2 separate regions of the Homo sapiens genome follow, and region 1 is linked to region 2. The links are contacts of gene promoters, found by promoter capture Hi-C in human tissues and cell types (Jung and others, 2019). All regions are on one chromosome and are shown on one strand. Each heading gives the region's core, a stretch centred on a gene start or on the middle of the fragment in contact. The rest is flanking DNA. Distances are from core to core; before and after follow the strand shown. Region 1 has its middle 120 kb from the start of NABP1. Region 2 holds the start of MYO1B (myosin IB).

The links. The method cuts DNA at HindIII sites, captures the fragments that hold promoters and counts their contacts. A contact is called where the count stands out against the background at its distance.
Region 1: a fragment that was not itself captured here is called in contact with the fragment with the promoter of MYO1B in region 2 in 1 of the 25 tissues and cell types used here (spleen).

What each region holds. Positions count from the first base shown.
Region 1 is chr2:191,552,306-191,556,261 of GRCh38, forward strand. No RefSeq gene overlaps it. Among named protein-coding and RNA genes, the nearest start is that of NABP1, 120 kb to the right of the region's middle. The HindIII fragment of the contact is 3,966 bases long and covers 517-3,956 here.
Region 2 is chr2:191,243,194-191,247,196 of GRCh38, forward strand. MYO1B (myosin IB) reads left to right here and starts at 2,211. Exons shown (of 31, transcript NM_001130158.3): 1 at 2,211-2,433. It overlaps MYO1B-AS1 (MYO1B antisense RNA 1), which reads right to left and starts at 2,982. Exons shown (of 4, transcript NR_186085.1): 1 at 2,726-2,982; 2 at 427-880. RefSeq lists an enhancer at 2,097-2,719 and a silencer at 2,132-2,521. The HindIII fragment of the contact is 14,933 bases long and covers 1-4,003 here.

The DNA of each region.
Region 1 (3,956 bases), core at 1,250-3,749, 310 kb after region 2:
AGTTAAAAACAAGAAAGTAATCTGTTTGCTATCCAGGGAGGTCATTAGAAAGGATGGTTGAAAAAAAACAAAAGCAAAAACAAAAAACTGTCAACGTATTTTGGAAGTTGGAAACTGAAAACCGGCTCTACAGCTCTAAGCTGGTCTTTGTAGAAAGCGGCTAATGGAGCTAAATATGGAAACTACTTCTTTTGATGGGGACCTCGTTACAGAAGAGTTTCAGGAAAGCTGGTTTATAGTTCCCCTATCACAATGTTGCCAAATTATCAATGCCCGGAGGAATGAGAAAATGCCTTCTGACCAGTGGAAGCCGATAAAGTAATACTTTCATTTGGAATGCCACAGAAAAGATAGCAGAAGCTAGAGTTCTCAGCTGGATAACTCACTGTGCCAGGCGCGGTGGCTCACGCCTGTAATCCCAGCACTTTGGGAGGCTGAGGCAGGCGGATCACCTGAGGTCAGGAGTTCAAGACCAGCCTGGCTAACATAGTGAAATTTCATGTCTACTTAAAAAAAAAAAAAATTAGCCAGGAGTGGTGGCACATGCCTGTAGTCCTAGCTACCTGGGAGGCTGAGGCAGGAGAATCGCTTGAATCCGGGAGGCGGAGGTTGCAGTGAGCTGAGGTCGTGCCACTGCACTCCAGCCTGAGCAACAGAGTGAGACTCTTGTCTAAAACAAAACAAAAAACAAAAAAGATAGAGAATGCACTGAGCCAGAACACAGGAACTATCCTTCATGTGAGCAACTGGCCAGAATCTTTTTTTTTTTTTTAATGTGGAAATGTGGCTTGGTCCTCTCTTCAGATTTAACTCATTTGATCAATCTTATTGATCAAGAATGGACAGTTAGCTGTCATTCTCTTCCTTCCATACTAATGACAAAAAATAAGTCCTGATTCGACAAATTATTTGATCAGCACAAACTGTTTATTAACAAAGAACAGAGGACCACACGTTGTCTTTCTCCTGCTTTCCTGTGTCTGTAATAGAGTGGCGCGAAGACAAACACATTCCTGGATCTGTCAGCTTCACCTGACTTGACTCTGGAATTCTCAGTAAGCCTATCTGCTTAAACCACAGTCTCTCAGCCTCAGTTGCTTGTTTGAATCACGGGGAGCTCTGGAAGCTCCTTGTACTCCAGCCATACTCCACACCAGTTACAGCATTATCTTTGTTGGGGGCAGGTGTGACCCAGGTATCAGTATTTTTTAATGATGCCTAAATGATTCCAGTAAGCAGCCAAGTTTAAGAATTGCTGCATTCTCAATCTTGGTGACATATTAGATTCACTTGGGGACCCAGACCAAGCTAGTCAGAATCAGAATTTTTTTAGTCCCCCAGGTGACTCTCATATGCAACCGGGGCTGATAGTTTCTGCCTTTATATAGTGATTCTCAAAGTATGATCACAGAGCTTGCATTAGGGGTACTCACTTTCCTTATTAAATATTTGGTTTCCAGCTCCACCCCAGACCTATTGAATCAGAAATAGGACTTCACTTCGTTTTGCGAGCTCTGCAGGTGATCCACATCCTCTTTAAAGCTTGAAATCCACCACCTGAAACTTCCTCTATCTCTGCTTGAAGATTCCTCAACTTCCACAAAGAAAGATTTATTCTTTTTACCTGAGGAAGACGGAGTTTATATTTCTGTGAAAGTGCAAATACAATGGCATAACATGCAAAATACATTAGGTTTGAATATGATGAACCTGATCAAGAAGAAAAAGGAATCAACCAAACAAAACCAACCAAAACAAACAAAAACAAGACATTGGGTAAAAAGAACAAGGTGCAGAACAGCTGGTATAGCATGTGCCTTTTTTAAACCATAAAAAGGAATAGTTGTATGAATATTCTGGGTAGCTGCTAGGAAGACCTTTTATAATATGTGTCATACACACATAATTCTTCTATTCAAAAATAGAGTAATTAAAAATGCAAACATTACAGAGAGAAGTCATATTAAGCCTCATTAATGTTAAAAGATAAACTGAGGCACATTAGAATATTAAGGAGTTTATTTGAGCAAACGATTCATAAATCAGGTAGCATCAGACTTCAGGTGGCTCGAGGCTCCACCAAGAGGGCAAGAGAAGGCTTTAAAAGGGTTAATTGGTGGCTCCTGAGTTTTAAAGCTGAAGTTGCATTTTCCTAGAATATGACCATTGATACTTGGGTTTCGGTTTGCTTCTGTAGGAATCCAGGGCCCTGGAGCTGGCTCAGCCTAATGGCCTCTCCATTAATTATCTTAGTTACTTATACCTAGAGTGAATCATTTTATCAAAAAAAATTTTCTGAACAGCTTTTGATTTGAGGAAGAACAAGTAGAATAAATGTCCTGAGGACTAGGGAAGCCAAAGAACGTGTGGAGGAGAGGCACAGGAAAGAATCTCAGAGCCTTGAAGTCGGCATTTGCCAACTTTACATTTTTGTTCAAGGTCAGTCTTGACCTTGATTTACATTCCCAAAGATGGAAACAAACCAGTGTGTGTTCTTCACCTGTCACCGACACTCGTTTAGAAAATAATTGGGGTCGTCCCGGCGCAGTGGCTCGTGCCTGTAATCCCAGCACTTTGAGAGGCTGAGGCAAGAGGATCGCTTGAGCCTGGGAGTTCGAGACCAGCCTGGACAACATACTGAGATCCCTGTCTCTACTAAAAATACAAAAATTAGCCAGGCGTGGTGGCGCGTGCCTGTAATCCCAACTACTGGGGTGGCTGAGGCACGAGAATCGCTTGAATCTGGGAGGCAGAGGTTGCCGTGAGCTGAGATTGTGCCCCTGTACTCCAGCCTGGGTGACAAAGCGAGACCCTGTCTCAAAAAAAAAAAAAAAAAAGAAAAGAAAAGAAAACAAGTGGGGGCGTCCTCACTTTCCCAGGCTCCCTCTAATTGTGTGTGGGGGTTGGGTGTTTAGCACTCACAAGCTTCCGCGAAATGCTGCCTCAAATTATCTTGTAGCCACCAGGTGGCAGCAGCAATCCACTTTTTGGTCTAACCTGGGAGAGGCTGAACTAGGATGGTTCTCCTTTAATTAGCGTACTGGCCATAGAATCGTGGACGTTTAGACATGAAAGAACCTTTCTCAAAAGTTCTGACAACTACAGATGTTTAAACGGAGAAAAAATAACAAACATATTAAGAACACTTCGTTGTTCACACAATAAATTTCATCTATTGAAGGGAAGAAAGGAAGTTGTAACATCTACAATGTGCTGGGCACTTTGTATGTTATCTCATTTGATTATCAGTACAACCTTGTGGGATGGATACCAATGCCTCTAATTTACCGTGGGGGAAACTCAAGTTGGGATAGGTTCAGACTTGTCTGATGTCTCAGAGAAGTAGGTAACAGAGGCATTTAAAAGTATCAGACACTAGTCAAAAGTCTTGGAGTTGAACCACAGCATGCTTTGGTGTGTGTGGGGTGGGATTGATCAGCCAAATGGCAGGATTTTGATGGTGAGGGAATATGGTTATTCTTTGAGGACCCTCTGTTTTATGGCCCAGTACTTGTGCTAGTCACAAAAAAGTAAGAGGATCAAGGGTGCCTTCTAAATTTGAACCATCTTGAATAATCAGGAGGAGCTTCTTGAAATTAGAGGAGTCTTAATCAGAGAGAGAATCATGCTCTGAAGAGGGGACAGAATGCTTATTTCTCTTTTTTCTTTTGAGACAGGGTCTCACTCTGTGGTCCAGGCCAGAGTGCAGTGGCGTGATCGTGGCTCACTGCAGCTTTGAGCTTCTGGGTTCAAGTGATCTTCCTACTTCAGCCTCCCAAGTAGCTGGGACAACAGGCATGCACCATCACGCCCAACTTATTTTTGTATTCCTTGTAGAGTCAGGGTTTCTCTGTGTTGTCCTGGCTGGTCTTGAACTCTTAGGCTCAAGCGATCCTCCTGCCTCAGCCCCTCAAGCAGTGGGATTACAGGCGTGAGCCACTGTGCCAAGCCAGAAC
Region 2 (4,003 bases), core at 961-3,460:
CCTTCCAAGATCAAAAGTTTATAGAATTCCCCCACTCTTCAATTTGTATACATCTTATATTCATGAACCTGCCATCTGCATTTCTGCTATTTTTGAAAAGCTGAACTGGACAGTAGAGGTCAGAAGTTCCATGAACTGCCAAACTGCTATAAGCAGTCACTTGGGAACCTAAACTCAGACAAGCAAAATGGAGAAGTGAGTCTAACACACGTCACCAGGTAGCAGGTTCATATGTTGCCTATTGTGAAGGCTGGGATCTCCAGGGTTTTCATTATGCTAGGTTATCAAGGTCTGAGGTAGTGTGCTTGATAGTGAAGACTATAGAGTCAGACTATCTGGGTTCAAATTCCAGCTCTGTCACTGTTCTAGGTGTCTATTGCTATGTAACAACCACCCAGATGACAATCTTTTATTATTATCACTTACGTTTCCGGGGCCTGATTTGGCTCAGCTAGGTTTTCTCTCTAGGTCTCTCAGGCAGCGTGGTCAGTGACTGTGGCTGGAGTTCTTTCAAAAGCTCGCCAACTCACATGCTTGATATAAGTTGTACTGGCAGTAGACCAGGTCCTCAGCTGGCACCATCAGCCCAAACACCTACACATGGCCTTCCCTGTGGCTTGAGCTTCCTCACAATATGGCAGCTGGGTTCCAAGGGTGAGTGTCCCAAGGGAGAGCCAGGTGAAAACTTCATCTCCTTTTATGACCTAGGTTTGGAAGTCACATAGCATCACATCTGCTGTATTCTATTTGTTACAATCAAATCACTAAGTCCAGACCATATTCAAAAGGAGGGCAATTAATATCCACTCTCTAATGGGAGTCTTCAAACCACCATAGCCATGTATTCCCTGAAGACCTCTCTGTCCTTGGCTTTGCTGGTCTGTAAAACAAGGATAATGAGAGAAACTTACCTCAGAGCTTTTTGTGAGGATTAAACAAAGAACAGTCCCTGGTACCCAGTATGTGTTAGTTTCGCCCATTATCACACCACTTGTACATCTGAAGTGATGCTGATGGTGACATCAATGATGAGACAGTTCCCAGCAGATATAGTCTGTGAAGGTCCCACCTTTCCAAACTCTACTAGTGGCATTTAACAAATCCCAGCGCCTGTGGTTCTTATGCCAGTGGGAACAGTTACTATATATGGTCTGAATTCTTTGGTTCACCTCACTTTAGTGACAGTTTCCAGATACAGGTCAGTCCATTTAAACCTGGCCCATTTATGGCAATTTATTTCATTATAGGATAAAGTAGTTAGAACCATGAGTAATAATTACTGTGTCTACAGTGCTTTTAACACCTCAGCCAAGTAATCCTCATCTCACCCAGTGAGTAAGTTTGAATGCGCACCCTTCCCTGTGCGAGGATGAAGAAACCAGGACCTGGGTCAAGAGGATTGTTCTAAATTCTCCAATGAGGCAATAGGGCTTGAGTGAGAAGGTGTGTGTGTGTGTGTAGGGGGGGTGTCCTGATTCTCTGGCCCCTACATGCCTGTATAATATACCCCATCACTGATCATTACTCAGGACCTGTTAATACACTCTATTCAAATACGTATGGGTATTTGAAATTTCTTTTAAACTACCTCTCATGTATTTATAACACAAAGAATTGGCCAGTGTCTATTTCCCACAATGTGAGATTAAGTAATTTAAAAGATACTAAAAGTCTTGTAAATGAAGACACACCACACCACTCAGTATAATTTTTTTCTTTTTCTGTGAAACTAATATTTTCTGATATTCTCGGCATCCAAAAATTTTCATCTTGGGGAGGAGGAAAAATTGAGACTTACTCCCACTGTTTGCCGGAATGTGACCCCAGGCTGGCTTCGAGTTGTCAAATGTTGTATTTCTCATTTTATGTCAGTGAGTCTGGAAGCAAAAAAGGTAGAAAGACTGCCTTCCGTGGGGGCCGCGACGATCGCCCCTCCTTCCCTCAAGCCTCGTCCCATCCAGGCTCGCCCCGGGTGCGGAGGGTCGGGCCGCAAACCCGCAAGGCGCGGAGGCCGCCGCGACGCTCACCGGGGGGCGCTGTGAAGCCGGCACCGGGCGGACAGAGGTGAGTCGGCTCGGAGGCGGTGGCTCCCGTTCCTGCCCGCGCGCCGAGGGGCGAATCCCAGGCAGCGAGGTCGCCGCCCCCGCCCCTCGGCCGGCCCCTCCGCCAGCGGGCGAGAGGGGAGTGGCCGGGCTCCTCCCGCCGCCGCTGAGCACTCCGCAGCTGGGTGCGCACGGGAGCCTCAACCGCGGCGCGTGGAGGCAGTACCAGAGCGCGCGGCGCGCAGTCGGCCGGCAGCCGCGGGACAGCCTTGGCAGAACAGCCGCGGCGGGAGCCCCGCAGCCCCGGGCTGGGCCCGCGTCCCGGAGCGCCACCGGAGAGCGAGGACGACGTGGAGGCGGAGTGGCGCCCGGCGAGGTAGCGCCAGGCGAGGTAGCGCGAGCGCTTTCTCTCTCTCTCCCCTGCCCTTCCCTCTGCGTCCGTCGTCGGCCCCCGAGGCGCCTGCTCCGCGCCTTTGTGCCCGCGGTCCCTGGCCCCGTCGCACCCTGCGGGCGGGGGTCAGCGGGCTCTGCCGCTCTCTTGGGAGACGCGGCGCTGCGGCGGGAACGGCGCACGCTGTAGGTTGCGGAGGGTGGTCGTGACTCCGCAGTGGCTTCGGGGGTGGCGGGAGGGAAGAAGGGCTTGTAAACTAAGTTGCTCTTACTTTGCCCCATGCCTCTCGTACCTGTGGGCAGAGTCGAATCTCGGCTGTCCTCGTGTTCACCCACAGCCCCTCCATTCCTCTGGCCCACAGCTGTTTCCTGGCCCCCTGGAAAGACACGGTGTGGCTTCCTCCGGGCAGGAAAGCGGAGGGAGAACAATGGGGCGTCCTGGGGAGTGGGGTTCAGGTGCGGTGTGCCCCGGCGGCGGCGGGGGAGGAGGGGCCCGGGACGCTGTGGGCCTCCCTGCGCGTGCAGCTGCGCTCGCCTCCTTTGTTCCGCCGCAGCGGAGGGGGTTGCCCTGGGTCTCGTTTCCTGCCCGGGATGGGATTGATTCACGGTCCCAGAGAGGGAAGGGGAAGGGGGCGGGGCTGGAATGGAAACCAGATTAGAGACGGGAGCTACGAAGGGTGGTGGGGCCGGGAAGAGAGTTGGGGAGAGGGTTGGGAGAGGGTGATGAGAGCGCGCTGGAGAGGTAACTACAAACACACAACATTTTGTTCAAGGGCCATGTGAGTTTCTAGAGCTTATTTGTAGTGCTTTGTTCAGGCTTCGGCCCAGCGTTTATTGCTGCAACAAGTTGTGTGCTTCTTGAGTTTCTAGGCGTTCCCAATGTTAGATTGCTCAAAGCAAATCTTCTTAGTTACAGTGAAAGAAGCCCCCCCCCCTTTTTTTTTGAGATTTGAAAAAATTTTGCTATGAACTATGGTATTGGTGTGTATGTGTGTGCCTCTGGGTCTGTGTGTGTAGCTAGTGGATATTGGCTGGAATGGGTAGGAGACAAATTTTATAGAATCAATTTTGACGTAAAATTGTTTTATAGTATAATATAGTACAACAGTTTTCCAGGACTGTTTGAGGGCAGAAACCACCAGAAAATTAGACATTGCTATAAATAAATGAATCAGACTATGTAACACAATTGAAAAACCCTTTTACAGTCTGTCCCAGGAAACACACCACACACACCAGCGTTTGGGGTTTGAACTGAGGAGCCCTGGCATTGAAGTGTTCTGTGCTTTCACTCTCTGTGTGAGGATCGTTTAGAGGTGGTAGAATTAAATGTAATGTGTCAGACATTTGTTAAGTGACCTTTCCTAGATTGGAATCGAGACTCGCCAAAGGATTGGCTGACCTAGGGAGGGAGCTATGGGGGATTGAATGATGTGTGTTTTTTGAATGGGGTATTCCAAGCAAAACTGTTTTGGGAGGAGGCTGACATTTCCAGGCATTCATGGTTTGTGCCTGTGGGACACTGGTGGGAGGATTCCCAAAGTCGGACTGAAGGTTAGCATTACTGTGGT